Regions from separate parts of the Homo sapiens genome. Here region 1 is linked to region 2. Evidence: promoter capture Hi-C in 16 types of primary human blood cells and fetal thymus (Javierre and others, 2016). All regions are on one chromosome and are shown on one strand. Each heading gives the region's core, a stretch centred on a gene start or on the middle of the fragment in contact. The rest is flanking DNA. Distances are from core to core; before and after follow the strand shown.

Region 1 (6,707 bases), core at 2,489-4,988, 310 kb after region 2:
ATCATTATAGATAACCTTAAACTGATCTTAGGAACACTATAGGAAAGATTTAGTTGCGGTGTTAATAAAATTCCTTAATTAGAAAGATAAATAAGCCACTTCATGATCAAGCTCTTACTTCTAAAGTGAAGGTTTTATTTTATTTATTTTTTAACCTTTCCACATTTTATTGACAAAGAATTAATAGTATAAATTACGTTTATATTGCAAAGTTTATTTATGGAAATTTGATACGTGTACTTCTACTCCTTTTTACACCTTACATGAATATTTAAATAATTGATTTATAACACTCCCTGATGCCAGGTAAAGTAAAGCCTAATCGCAGTTCAGAAACTCACATGTACAACAAATTTAACTTTCTGGATATTTTTAAAACTCAGCTTAATTTCCCTAGGTGCTCCATTAACCTGATGGCAGAAATTAAATCTTAAGCAACTCTGGGTTCTCCCACAAGCACACTTTGCTTCAGAGTTGTGCTGAAGTTTTGAGGAGGATGGGAGGAGGCAAGGAGGTGTCCAGTCCTTTGTGCATCTATCCCCTGGCATTCTCCCATCCTGCCCCAAGTCATCAGCCCACACAGGTTGCTGGCACATCTAAAGTGAGAATTTTAGGACTAAATAAATCAAATAGAAGTAAGCCCTCACATCTTCTATATCTCACCTGATAGTGAAGAAGTTTGAAGGTACAGAGCTCCACTTCTGCTAATAAAAAAAGAGTAAAATTTAATTTGTAAAATAGAATGGTGTAGCTAGGGTTGAGGTGCTATAATTTATTTATTGGAATGGCATCTTGAGATCCAGCACAGCTCATTGAATTTCCCTGTGGGGAGAGTTTGTGGTGAAGACTCATCAACAGACAAGCTGCTATCCCCCCCTAAAAAAAAAAGCTACTAACATCACATCAATTTCCAGGTTCTTCCAACTTGCGGAAGGATGTGTAGACCAAGCTTTTATTCTATTTTGTGACCAAAGTCTTGGGAAAAGAAGAAAATTGTTAGCATTTTCATGTCAAGCATACGAAAAACAAAAAAACAAAGCCAACCAACTGAACAAAGAACCCAACTTTTTTTAAAAAACTTGGTGGTAAGAGTGCTTTGTTCTGCTTCTCCATAGATAATGATTTATAGAAGGAGAACAAAATATAATTTCTGCTACTAAAACAATAATAGCAAAAAATAAATAATCAATATTGAGAATCCAATAGACAGAGTTAACAACCAGTTAGACATAGAAGAGAGAATTAGTGAATTGGAAGACAACTATAAAGAAAGAAGCCTAAAGAGACCACAAGACAAAGAATGCCAAGCTAAGAGGATAAGAGGCATTGATGCTACAATCAGAGCATCTAACATACTTCTGGATTTCTGGAAGATTAAAAGGGATAAAATAGGGCAGAATCAATGTTGTGGAGATTTTCCCAAAAGTGATAAAATGTATTAATCCATATATTTTTAGTAACCATCAAAGGTCAGACAAGATAACTAAAAACAAATTAACATAAAATGTCACAAGACATCAAAGACCAGTAGAAAATCTGAAAAGTAGCCAGAGGAAAAGATAGATTATTTTAAAAGGAACAACTTTCTAAATGACAACCTGATTTTCAACAGAAAAATGGAAAGTAGAATTCAATGGAATCATGTCTTTAGTGTGTTTCAAAAGAATAGAGGACCTTCATAAACAGAAATCCAAATGATATTTTTCAGATAAAAAATATTGAAAATACAAGGTTAAGCATGCAAGAAGGAATAAAAATTAACAGAAATGATAAATATGTGCATAATTCTAAATGAATGTTGACTGAATAAAATAATAGCGTCTTGCTGAGTTAAATATATTATTGATAAGATATATGCAAATAGCGATAAAGAGACTGGAGGTAAAGGTGACAGGAACAAATTTAGATAAATTATTTTTTGCACTTTTCTATGTCTGTGAGGATAATTTGAACACCACATTTAATGACCCCATAATAGGAATTGCATCAAATGATATGTGAAATAATGCTGATAGTAGTATTATTCATAATAGCTCAAAAATAGACTGCCCAAATATATATTAACTAAGGATGATTGAATGATATGAAAGATTACAGTAAATCCATACAGTGGAACAGTATATAGAGGTGAAAAGAAATGAATCACATGTACATGCAACTATGTAACTAAATTTCAGAAACATGATATCTAGTGCAAGAAGCCATGAACAAGAAGAACACACAGGACTGCACCTATACACAGTTCAAAGCAGGACAGACCAAGCTGTGGAGTTTAGGGTTGTGAACCTAGCTGGTAAAGTATAAAGAAATTCAAGCAAATGATCATCATAGATTATGAATATTGCTTATCTCAGGAGATGTGAATAAAGGTTTAGGGGCTTGGAAAGTGGCCTGGAAGTGGACCTAGTCTGTTTGCAGTGTTCCATGTCTTATCCTGCATGATGGTTACATAAGTGTTTATGATACATTGCTCTTACCTATTTTTGTTTTGGCCCATTTCTAAGTGTGCATTATAATTTTATTTAAAAAATTACAAATTGGGAGAAATGTCACGTAAAAATTATTAATTGCTCTGCTCATTATATACCTAGGGGGAAAATCCACCATTTACGTACATTCTTATACAACTCAAGAGAGCTAAAGTGAATTCTTATTTTAGTTGCAAAATGGAGAAATTTGAGATGCTGTTACCTACAGCCTCCAGATCTTTCCAAAAGTTTTCTTCTAGTTTTAGATATTCACCTCATATTACAAAAACTTTGATATTTCCAACCTATTTTTCCTTTGGCTCCTGAATTTCTGACACAACAAGGGCGCACATATTTCTCAAACTCTTGGATTAGCAGAGTACCTATATCACTTAGCTTTTTCTGCAAAAGAAACTTCTCCAAAACCACATTAGATATTTATATCTCACATGTTTTTGGATTCTGTTTTCTTAAGCTGGGGTTTGGTGGATGGCTCTGGTGATTTGAGATGGTCCAAGTTTTGCCTCTTGGATCTAGTTAGAGTTTGGCCGATTTAAGGCTGGATCAGGCAGGAGCCATATGATTCCATGAGTTACTCATTCTTATTCTGGGAACAGTGTGTTAGTGTGGACATGTTCTCATTATAAACCGGAAAGGAACAAGAAAGCCTAATGTGGAGGTCATCTCAAATTTCGATGTAAAGTGTAGTAATTTTCTGTTCATCAAAGCAAATTACATGATCGAACTCAGAGCCCTAGTGCAAGGTTGTCACTATGCCTGTGGTGGGAGGACACTGCAAAATTATGTGACAAAGGTCTGGTACTCAGGAATGTTTACAAGCTTGCAGGTAGCATTACCAAAAGCCTAAGCATGAGAGATATGTTTCATGAATATTATTCATTGGCTGAAAATCTGGCATGGGAAAAATAGGACTAATTCCACCAGGACGAGCTCCTGGAAACTCATTTTCCATGTCATAAGTTACAAGAAAGCAATTCCTTCCATCCTTGAAGAGTGAAAGTGTGTGTGTGTCTGTGTGTGTGTTTATGAGCTTGTTAATAGTGATGCCATATAGAAGTATTGGTTAACAGCAACCAAATTATAAGGAGTATTGGCTTTCCTGTGGTTTCCAAGAAAATCTTAGGTGATTTTGATAAAAAGTTTAGATTCTGTGTATTTAAATCTGGCTTTAAAAATAAATCCATAGTGATTTTGATCCTAGATTTCACCAGGCTCTTTTAACAATATATTTTTTGTGTCATCTATGTACTGGGTATTAAAATTTCCCCAACAACTGAAGGGCTGAACACAAATTATGGAAAGGTGAAACAAGGAAAAAATTGCAAAGCAATGAAAGAGGATATGTCTTTATTTGAATGCTAGCAAATGAGAATTCAGCTTTCCCTTCAACATCAGTATGAAAAATTTCAGCCTATAGCAAGAATAGAGACTTTATGAATAAGAATTAATTTGAGTTGTTTTGGGACTAACAGTATTTCCCATAAAGGCAGCATTGAACTCATTCATTAGTTTAAGCTGGTGCTTTTCTGTTGACATTGTTCACAGAATTTAAAAGTATAAAGAATGTTATTGGACATTCAGGAATCAAGTGCATATTTAACTTAAAGTCTTGAATATCAGAGGAGTCACCATCAGTGACATTAGGCCTGAATTTTTTACTTGCTTTTTTGTTTAGACATGATGAGTTTTCTACACATTGTTTTTTCCATTCTAGTAGTGGTTGCATTTATTCTTGGAAATTTTGCCAATGGCTTTATAGCACTGATAAATTTCATTGCCTGGGTCAAGAGACAAAAGATCTCCTCAGCTGATCAAATTATTGCTGCTCTGGCAGTCTCCAGAGTTGGTTTGCTCTGGGTAATATTATTACATTGGTATTCAACTGTGTTGAATCCAACTTCATCTAATTTAAAAGTAATAATTTTTATTTCTAATGCCTGGGCAGTAACCAATCATTTCAGCATCTGGCTTGCTACTAGCCTCAGCATATTTTATTTGCTCAAGATCGTCAATTTCTCCAGACTTATTTTTCATCACTTAAAAAGGAAGGCTAAGAGTGTAGTTCTGGTGATAGTGTTGGGGTCTTTGTTCTTTTTGGTTTGTCACCTTGTGATGAAACACACGTATATAAATGTGTGGACAGAAGAATGTGAAGGAAACGTAACTTGGAAGATCAAACTGAGGAATGCAATGCACCTTTCCAACTTGACTGTAGCCATGCTAGCAAACTTGATACCATTCACTCTGACCCTGATATCTTTTCTGCTGTTAATCTACTCTCTGTGTAAACATCTGAAGAAGATGCAGCTCCATGGCAAAGGATCTCAAGATCCCAGCACCAAGATCCACATAAAAGCTCTGCAAACTGTGACCTCCTTCCTCATATTACTTGCCATTTACTTTCTGTGTCTAATCATATCGTTTTGGAATTTTAAGATGCGACCAAAAGAAATTGTCTTAATGCTTTGCCAAGCTTTTGGAATCATATATCCATCATTCCACTCATTCATTCTGATTTGGGGGAACAAGACGCTAAAGCAGACCTTTCTTTCAGTTTTGTGGCAGGTGACTTGCTGGGCAAAAGGACAGAACCAGTCAACTCCATAGATTCACAAGAGGTGCATTGTGTGTTTTCTAGCAGAAAACAAATTGATGGTGTCTGGAACATTTTATATTTCCCACAAGTTTTTCCGTAGTCTATGTATTTGAGTAATTTCCAAAAGTTGACATAGAAAAGTCTTTTACCTAAGTTTATTATATAAAAGTATATATATATAATATACATTTGCGTGTGTGTGTATGTCTGAATGTATATGAAAATTTAATATTTACCATAACATACCTTTAATCAACTTTTCATATAAACTGTTCAGTTATACCAAAGTAGGATAAGAAATTTCTCAGAATTATGAACCCATGTGTATTTCACACATTTTTTTATATGATATTTCATTTGAGGAATTTATGATCTCTATTTATAATTAAGAACTGACAGCTTATATCAGAAAATCATTGCTGTTTTTCGTTGTAAAATCATTGCTGTTTTTCGTTGTAATTTGTATCACGTATATGTACCATAGTGTGTTTAACTGTTTAACTATCATTGTTTGAACCTCTAATTTTTTGGATGGTAAGGACATTTAATTCTAAATCGATGAGAATGTGTCTTTGGGGTAGGTTTTTTTGTTTTTTTTTTAATCATGAATTCTTTTTTTCTTTTTTTTGAGATGGAGTCTTGCCCTGTTGTCCAGGCTGGAATGCAGTAGCACAATCTTGGCTCACCACAACGTTCACCTCTGGGGTTCAAGTGATTTCCATGCGTCAGCCTCCTGAGTGGCTGGGACTCCAGGCATGCGCTACCACACGTGGCTAATTTTTTGTATTTTTCTTTTTTTTTTTAGTAGAGATGGGGTTTCACCATGCTGGCCAGGCTGGTCTCGAACTCTTGACCTCAAGTGATCCACTGCCTCAGCCTCCCAAAGTGCTGGGATTATAGACATTCATGATGAATTCTTATTTTATGTTTAATATAAAGCAAATACAATTATTGTTAGATAACAATGCACAAAATAAAATTCAAGGGTGAAAAATATATCTAGTGTACATTTTTATGTGTATCAAAAGCAATACTGAGGAATATTATATTTAATATAGTATGTTAATAGCTTAGAAAAAATCATTTCTATAAAAAGGATGAAGAAACATGATCATGAGCTCTTTTCAGTGCTGTTATAAGTTTCCATACGCAATTAGAAAAGTCATCTCTTCCAGTTTTTGAATTAAACAAAAACCTTTTTGAAGTTGAGATCTGATGTTATATATTTCAGTTTTTTGTCTAAGCCACCTCTGAGCTCCTGAATTGTCAATTTCCTCCTTTATCTTCCATCCTTAAAATTCCTCAAAAAGCTCAAATTTTCCTTACTTTAAAAAGAAGCTCAATCTAAAGAGGGTATAGAAACTATGGCATCTATGAAATCTATATATTAATGATAGGAAATGTCTTAAAGATATGTTTTATTATAATCTTGGTGTAAATAATGAAATGAGAGAAAGTGTGTTGACATATTCACTAATAGCAAGTTCTATTACAAGAAGAAAATGTATAACCTAGTTCAACAGCTAAATTCTGTGTGACTGTATTAATTTCTGGTGTTATGCAATTTTAACAATATTATCTAAACCTTAAGATAAATCATCTCCACATCTGATTTGTTTGTT
Region 2 (7,017 bases), core at 2,243-4,742:
TTCTAGAATTTTAGAATCATTGTGATTAGAAGGATCAAATTTAGTAAATTTAAAAGGGCATACACATATTTTGCCAATGCCAATATGTCACCCAAGAAAAATGCACGTATCATGGATTAAGGAAGTACATACAGGATCTATATTGGCAGGGTTTTGTAATTAGAAAAAAAGGAATTAATTCCTCTGAGTGTCTTTATATAAATCCAAGGGGTAAAACAGAATACTGGAAGATGTTTAAATGTGATTATGATTTTAAACAAACATGTTTACTCAGGAAAATATATTTTTCCTCACCTCAGCTGTTTATGTCTCAGGAAAACATAACCTTGAAAATATTGTAAGAGAAACTTGTTTTTATTCTCTGAATCTCCTTTCCTTTCACATTCTTGTAAAGAAATGAATGAAGACCAAGTAACCAGTGGAGCACAATAGGCAAGAACTCAGCTATGAGAACTAACTGCCTTCCAGTCCACTTACTACCTTTATATGATCCTAGGCATGCACCTAAGTCACCTCATCTACAAAATTAAGATAATAATAATCATCACATCTCCCTCATATGATGGTTCTGAAGATTGAATATCATATAGTAAATGCTGAAGAAATGTTTTCTATTATAATCAGCCTTTGCTAGGATAAATGGAAAGAATATAAATATGCTCAAATAGTTGTGAAATATACATATTAGAGAGCATCAACATCAAATAAAAATATAAAGATGACCATCCTACCAATGTAACCGAAGTTTTTAGAAAAGTCAACACAAATCTGAATTCTCACACACAACTGTATTACCAGAATGGTTGGTTTATGCAATGAACACAGTAAGTTGAGGAAGATTTTGCTTTCTGTTCCATTCACAGAGCTTCCAAGTCTTCAAAAAGAGAGAGATGTGTGAGTGTGAGAGAGCTGAGGCATGAAGTTTGGATCTTATTACAAGTGCAGAAGAAAATCCTAAGAGCATTGGAAGCACAAAAGTGTTATGATCTAATTCCTACTTTTCAATGATCACCCTGACTGATATGAGGGGAATGGATATGGGATGTGCTGGGGTAGGAATGTTACCAAGAGCACTGAGGATATTAAACTTCTTCAGGAGAGAGCATCATGGCCTGAACTATCACCTTCTAGTAAATATTATGCAAGTGGTTGTATTTGGGATGAGTGTTGAAAGTGGAGGAAACTGGATTTGCTAAAGGGCAGTGCCTGAAGGGAGTGAGGAGTTTTGAACCACTGAACACTTGACTTAGAAAAGGTTGGGAGCTGTTATGAGAGCTGAATTGTGTTTCCTAAAATTTCATATGTTGAAGGCTGTTCCTTCAGGACCTGAGAATATGAACATGGATATTAGAAGGCAAGTGGAGTGCTCAGGGCTTCCACTCACGTCTAGGTGCCCAAGTTCCTGCTGCAGTCCTGCTTCTCTCTTCCACCCACCCTCACCCACAGAGAGTGTCCCTTTCCGCATTTCCATCACCTCTTTTTTGTTTTGTCTGGTGAGTGCATAGCTGATATTTATGCTTTCCTGATAAACTTTACTCATTGCTGACATTGGAGAAGGTCAGGAAAGGGCCTGAAATGAGTGATCTTTAGGGGGGTTTTCATTCTCTTCCTGTACCTTCCTGCCAAGGGGAAGTCGGTCTTGCATCAGGCTGCAGCAACCTCAGTTGGTGACAATATCAGGCAATGTCAGCCTGGCCTCTGCTGCTCCTTTTCTCTGACATTCCTTTGTTACCTGATGGTCTAACTTAAGCCACCTAAGCAGGATTGCTCATCTCCAGTTGTATTCCCATTTCAAGTACGTGTATATTTTTGTCAGGGAAAATACCAATCTTCGTGGTTCCCTTGCAAGGGCAAAGTTATCTGTAGCAAAGCCTTTTTTATTAGGAAGTCTGCTTGTACTATTACCTGCAACTCTTCAGAAGGGCCACCCAGATTCTCATCTGCAAAGCCCAGGATCTACTCATCCACAATGTTCAAGAGGCCTGTCTTTAGGATTTACTGTCACATACCCTCTCTACCTCCATCATACCTCCAACCAAGGTGTTCTCAAATTAATACCAGCCATGCACAAAATGTGAACAATTACACAAGACACATGGAAGGTCTAAGTGGTAAATGGCAGCTGTTGATACTGAGTAACCTGTATATTCCATGAACTGATAAGCAGGTATTTATCAGATATAACGAAGAATCAGTAGCTGAAAGAAGTGCTAACAATGCAGGTCTCTGATAGGGCTTTTTGGAAACACAACACGTATTATGAAATTACACAGACAAGAATGAAACAAAGATGGTAAGTACTATATCCTAATACTTAGAAGATTAAATAAAGGAAATCTCACCAAATTCATGGGGAAAAAAGCCAGATACATAAAGAAAAATACACATAATGGGCTTGACTCAGAAAATAAAATATGAACAAAGAAGAACCAGAAAGAAGGTGGGGAGGAATGCATATCAGAATATTATAGAAAAATACTCTTTGTGGAAGAACAATCTGAGAAAACAGGTAACACAAATACTGACTAAACCAAGAATACCAATATAATGCAATTTAGGCTTTAACGAGGGTATCTGATTATCCTATTTGAATGTAGAATTGTAGCCACTTAATTATAAGTGGTAGGAATTCAATACAATTATTAAAAGAAATGAAGCAGAGGGTGAATATTATAGAATATTCTGGACAAAGGGAAGAGCATGAAGGAAGTTTTGGCAACATGATATCGCATGGCTCCCGCAAGGAATTATGTATTCAGTTTTCTCAGATCTAGAAATTTCCTTATGGTTTCTGTGTACATTTTGCATTAATAACCCCTAAAGGTACTTTAAAATACACAATTTTGGCCTTCCTGTGTGGCACAACAACAAGCCTTGCCTGAGCTGAGTCAGATCCACAGAAGCTTGAACAATAGTTGTAGCCCGAGCAGGCTGTGGGGCAGCTTTCTGTCATCTATGTGTGCCCAGGAGTGTGTTGTCTTCACACCATCACACAGGTAACAGAAACCATCTCTATCGCATCAAAACTTTAGCCAATTGTGATACTATCTGTACACACACATCACAAGAGATGGAAATAGGCTCTATAAAGAGCCAGAGAAATTGACCATCTTCACTGCTGGCTGTAGCTTCACTGCCCCCACAAATATTACACAGAAATAAATAGTAGAGTGGAAAGCAGACATAGTCTTACCAAAAGGATTGAAACTCTAATGATGTCTGAAGTTCAATTATGACACAGTGCTGATAGCTTGGACACAGTTCCTTTAGAACCTTTATTCAAGTCATAGTCGTACCTTTTAGAAATAAGGCACAAACAACATCCAACCCACCCCATCCCTCTGGGCTAGAGTCCCAAAGAGAAATAAGGGATACACCTGACCTGCAGTAAGGAAAGCAGAACCCAGTCTCTGAGGTGGTGAGGCCCACCCAGGGCTCAAAGGTGCCATTGTTTTGCTCCTCTTTATAAAGGGAGTTGCCACGTTCCTCCCAGCACAGAGTTGGGAGTGACTCCAGAGCCTCCAGCGAGATGCTGCTGATTCTGCTGTCAGTGGCCCTGCTGGCCCTGAGCTCAGCTGAGAGTTCAAGTGAAGGTAAAACAGAAGGGGGAAAAGATGCGGTGACTGCTTGGGACTTAGGAGGTGACAGTGGTAATTATGGGGAAGAGAGGAGAATGAAAACACAGATGGGGCTGCAGAGTTTTCATGCCTAGGATCAGGAGACCTGTTGTGCCCTCATTCCACAATAAGGACTTCTAATTTATTTAATGTACAATGAAATCCAATAACGAATTTGTTCCAGGGGAATGAGAAGGTAAGATTTGAATTTATAGAGATAGAACTGTGCTGTGAAGGCTGCAGTGGAGAGTGCAAGGCAGATTCAGGGAAGTCCAGCTGTGAAGATCCTATACTGATCCCAGTAAGTACACAGGGATGATGGTGGCCTTGCTGTACAGACAGTCGGCATTGATGATAGAGATACATACACATCAGAGATACTGCAGAGACAGAACTGGATAGAACACTTGTCTCTGTCTAACTAAAGATGTAGAAATATCAGAGCCAATCATTACAATTTTTCTCTCCCCTACATGCAGTATTTCAATGTGCTGGGAGTGGAATGGGTTAGATTGTATTGAAATGATTACTTCTGGTTACCCCTATTGAGAAAACATGTGTATGTATGCAATATATTAACAGGAGATGGAGGGCATAAGAACACCAAAATATCACATTGAAGTACCTGGCATGCATAAACTAAATAAGCATTAAGTCTTGAGGGATGCTAGGGAGGAAAAAAAGGGGCTGTTCTATGTTGAACTCATTGCTGTTGCTCTGTGTGGTAACAACCCTGCCTCCTCTTACACCTTCCACCCCTTCCAGCACCTTCACAGATGGTGGCTGATGAGTTAACCTAGGGGATGCATGGGGTGTGGTGAGAAGACAATTTTCCCTGTAGAACACTTGTGAGTCTTGAAGATTTGAGATGTAACATTTCCCATCATCCTGTGCTTCTCTTCTAGATGTCAGCCAGGAAGAATCTCTCTTCCTAATATCAGGTAAATCCCAATTCATTCTCAATCTGTTTTGACTCCCTTTTTCTGCTTACAAATGGATCATTTCTCCAGTGTCTTCTTATCAACACTTTCCTTTCAGGAATTGATTAATGTTATTGCCCCTAATGATATAGGCAATCTTCATGCAAACTTGATTCTGGGGACCATGAGCAGGCCACCAAATGGAATGTCAGAGATGCTTGGCTTAGATGACAACAGGAGTGGGTTGACATCCCCCTGGCCAGGAGTGCCTCCTGGGAGATGACAGACAAATGGCCAGTGTCCTTATTCTGACTCCTCCTTAGACTGAGAGCCCCTCAACTTCTCCCTTTTCCCCCAGCGTTCCACTCCAGAGTTCTAGGGCTTCACTGAAAATGCAAAGAAATTAGTATCTGGGTCTCATTTTTGTGCATTTCCCCATTTAGCTCCATTACTGTAAAAATTTGTGGCAACTATTCAGTGAATGCCGTATGTCCCCCACCTCCTCCAGGAAAGCCAGAAGGACGACGCCCACAAGGAGGAAACCAGCCCCAACGTCCCCCACCTCCTCCAGGAAAGCCACAAGGACCACCCCCACAAGGAGGAAACCAGTCCCAAGGTCCCCCACCTCCTCCAGGAAAGCCAGAAGGACGACCCCCACAAGGAGGCAACCAGTCCCAAGGTCCCCCACCTCATCCAGGAAAGCCAGAAAGACCACCCCCACAAGGAGGAAACCAGTCCCAAGGTACCCCACCTCCTCCAGGAAAGCCAGAAAGACCACCCCCACAAGGAGGCAACCAGTCCCACCGTCCCCCACCTCCTCCAGGAAAGCCAGAAAGACCACCCCCACAAGGAGGTAACCAGTCCCAAGGTCCCCCACCTCATCCAGGAAAGCCAGAAGGACCACCCCCACAGGAAGGAAACAAGTCCCGAAGTGCCCGATCTCCTCCAGGAAAGCCACAAGGACCACCCCAACAAGAAGGCAACAAGCCTCAAGGTCCCCCACCTCCTGGAAAGCCACAAGGCCCACCCCCAGCAGGAGGCAATCCCCAGCAGCCTCAGGCACCTCCTGCTGGAAAGCCCCAGGGGCCACCTCCACCTCCTCAAGGGGGCAGGCCACCCAGACCTGCCCAGGGACAACAGCCTCCCCAGTAATCTAGGATTCAATGACAGGTATGATTCCACTTTATTATTCATCAGGACTCTAATTGCTACAGTTCTCCAACTTTATTGTGCCAATGAATCAACTAAAACCCATTGACATTGTATTGTCCTAGAACCCATTTCTAAAAATTTGTATTCAGATACTCTGGAATAGGGTAAGGGGACCCTGTATTTCTAACAAAATCTTTAAGGAATTCTGATGTTGAGAAACAACATACCATATGATCTGTCTTAAATTGTGTTGGCAATGAGGAGGTAGTACCATGTTCATTCTTGGCGTTCTGTTTTCTATCCACTAACTCAGAGACCTCCCATTTAAAGTTTTCACCTGAGCACCATTTGCTCAGTCCTGCCTCACACCAGCCTCTCGAGTCCAGTATTCCTGCCAAATGGTCCCTGATCTTTCAGCAGCTAAATGGCGTGTCACTTTTTAGATACTTAACTTTTCAATACGTACATGATTAAGCTAACAAAAAATATCTAATGGAATGGAAAAATATGAAGCTAATTTTAAAGGCATAACACATCCTACCCACCTTCCTTCCTTCAAAAAGCTCCCACTGTTAACCTTATGGGATCTTTTCTTTGAAATATTTATGTGTGCATAGACATATAGCATTCTTTTACCCTACCACTAATGCCATAACTTATATGCAGGTATATATGTTAGTCATTTAAAAAATACATTTTTTTAAAATTTCCACATCAGTTTATGAAGGTCACTACATATCTTCAGTGGTTTTCTGTTTGCTTTTACATTTTTATACTACTCTATTGTGTAGCTGTGCCATGATTTCGTTAACCAATCCCTGTCACTGGACACTGAGGGTGGTTTTAGCTTCTCAGTATTATAGAATATGTTCCAGTTACCATCTGTGTAAATATATCCCTGAACAAATTCAACAGCAATGAGTCACAGCAACCTAAGGATGGTCTTTTCTCTTCATCTTCTAAGCCACAATTTGGAGCACATTGTGTGCAAGGGCATCAAAAGAGTGAATCTATGAACTTGCTTGTTTGTTTATTTCAGGAAGTGAATAAGAAGATATCAGTGAATTCAAATAATTCAATTGCTACAAATGCCGTGACATTGGAACAAGGTCATCATAGCTCTAACTTTAATATACCAATAAAATAATCAGCTTGCAATTTCTGATTGTGGTGTTCTTTCTCAGTGTTTGTGAATGTGGAATGTGAGGACCAAGAACACATTATAAGAACATCTAGGACCCCTTCTGTCTGATGCTTCCAGGGAGTTTCCCTTCTCTTTAATCCTAACTTAGCCAGCTGCCATGAAAAATGTTTTGCTGTTTATCTCT

Evidence for each region. Contacts are between HindIII fragments. The CHiCAGO score rates a contact against its expected background, and 5 or more counts as called.
Region 1: the fragment with the promoter of TAS2R20 here is called in contact with the fragment with the promoter of PRB4 in region 2 in 4 of 17 cell types (total CD8 T cells, naive B cells, activated CD4 T cells and 1 more); the score reaches 6.9 in total CD8 T cells.

What each region holds. Positions count from the first base shown.
Region 1 is chr12:10,995,335-11,002,041 of GRCh38, reverse strand. It overlaps TAS2R20 (taste 2 receptor member 20), which reads left to right and starts at 3,738. Exons shown (of 1, transcript NM_176889.4): 1 at 3,738-6,081. The coding sequence starts at 4,167. The coding sequence ends at 5,096. The region is part of intron 3 of PRH1-TAS2R14 (PRH1-TAS2R14 readthrough); the gene reads left to right. All of the region lies in intron 3 of PRH1-PRR4 (PRH1-PRR4 readthrough), which reads left to right. It also overlaps a transcript of PRH1 not described here. The HindIII fragment of the contact is 1,654 bases long and covers 3,311-4,964 here.
Region 2 is chr12:11,306,911-11,313,927 of GRCh38, reverse strand. It overlaps PRB4 (proline rich protein BstNI subfamily 4), which reads left to right and starts at 3,492. Exons shown (of 4, transcript NM_002723.6): 1 at 3,492-3,593; 2 at 4,523-4,558; 3 at 5,046-5,707; 4 at 6,729-6,851. The coding sequence starts at 3,530. The coding sequence ends at 5,689. The HindIII fragment of the contact is 5,809 bases long and covers 2,906-7,017 here.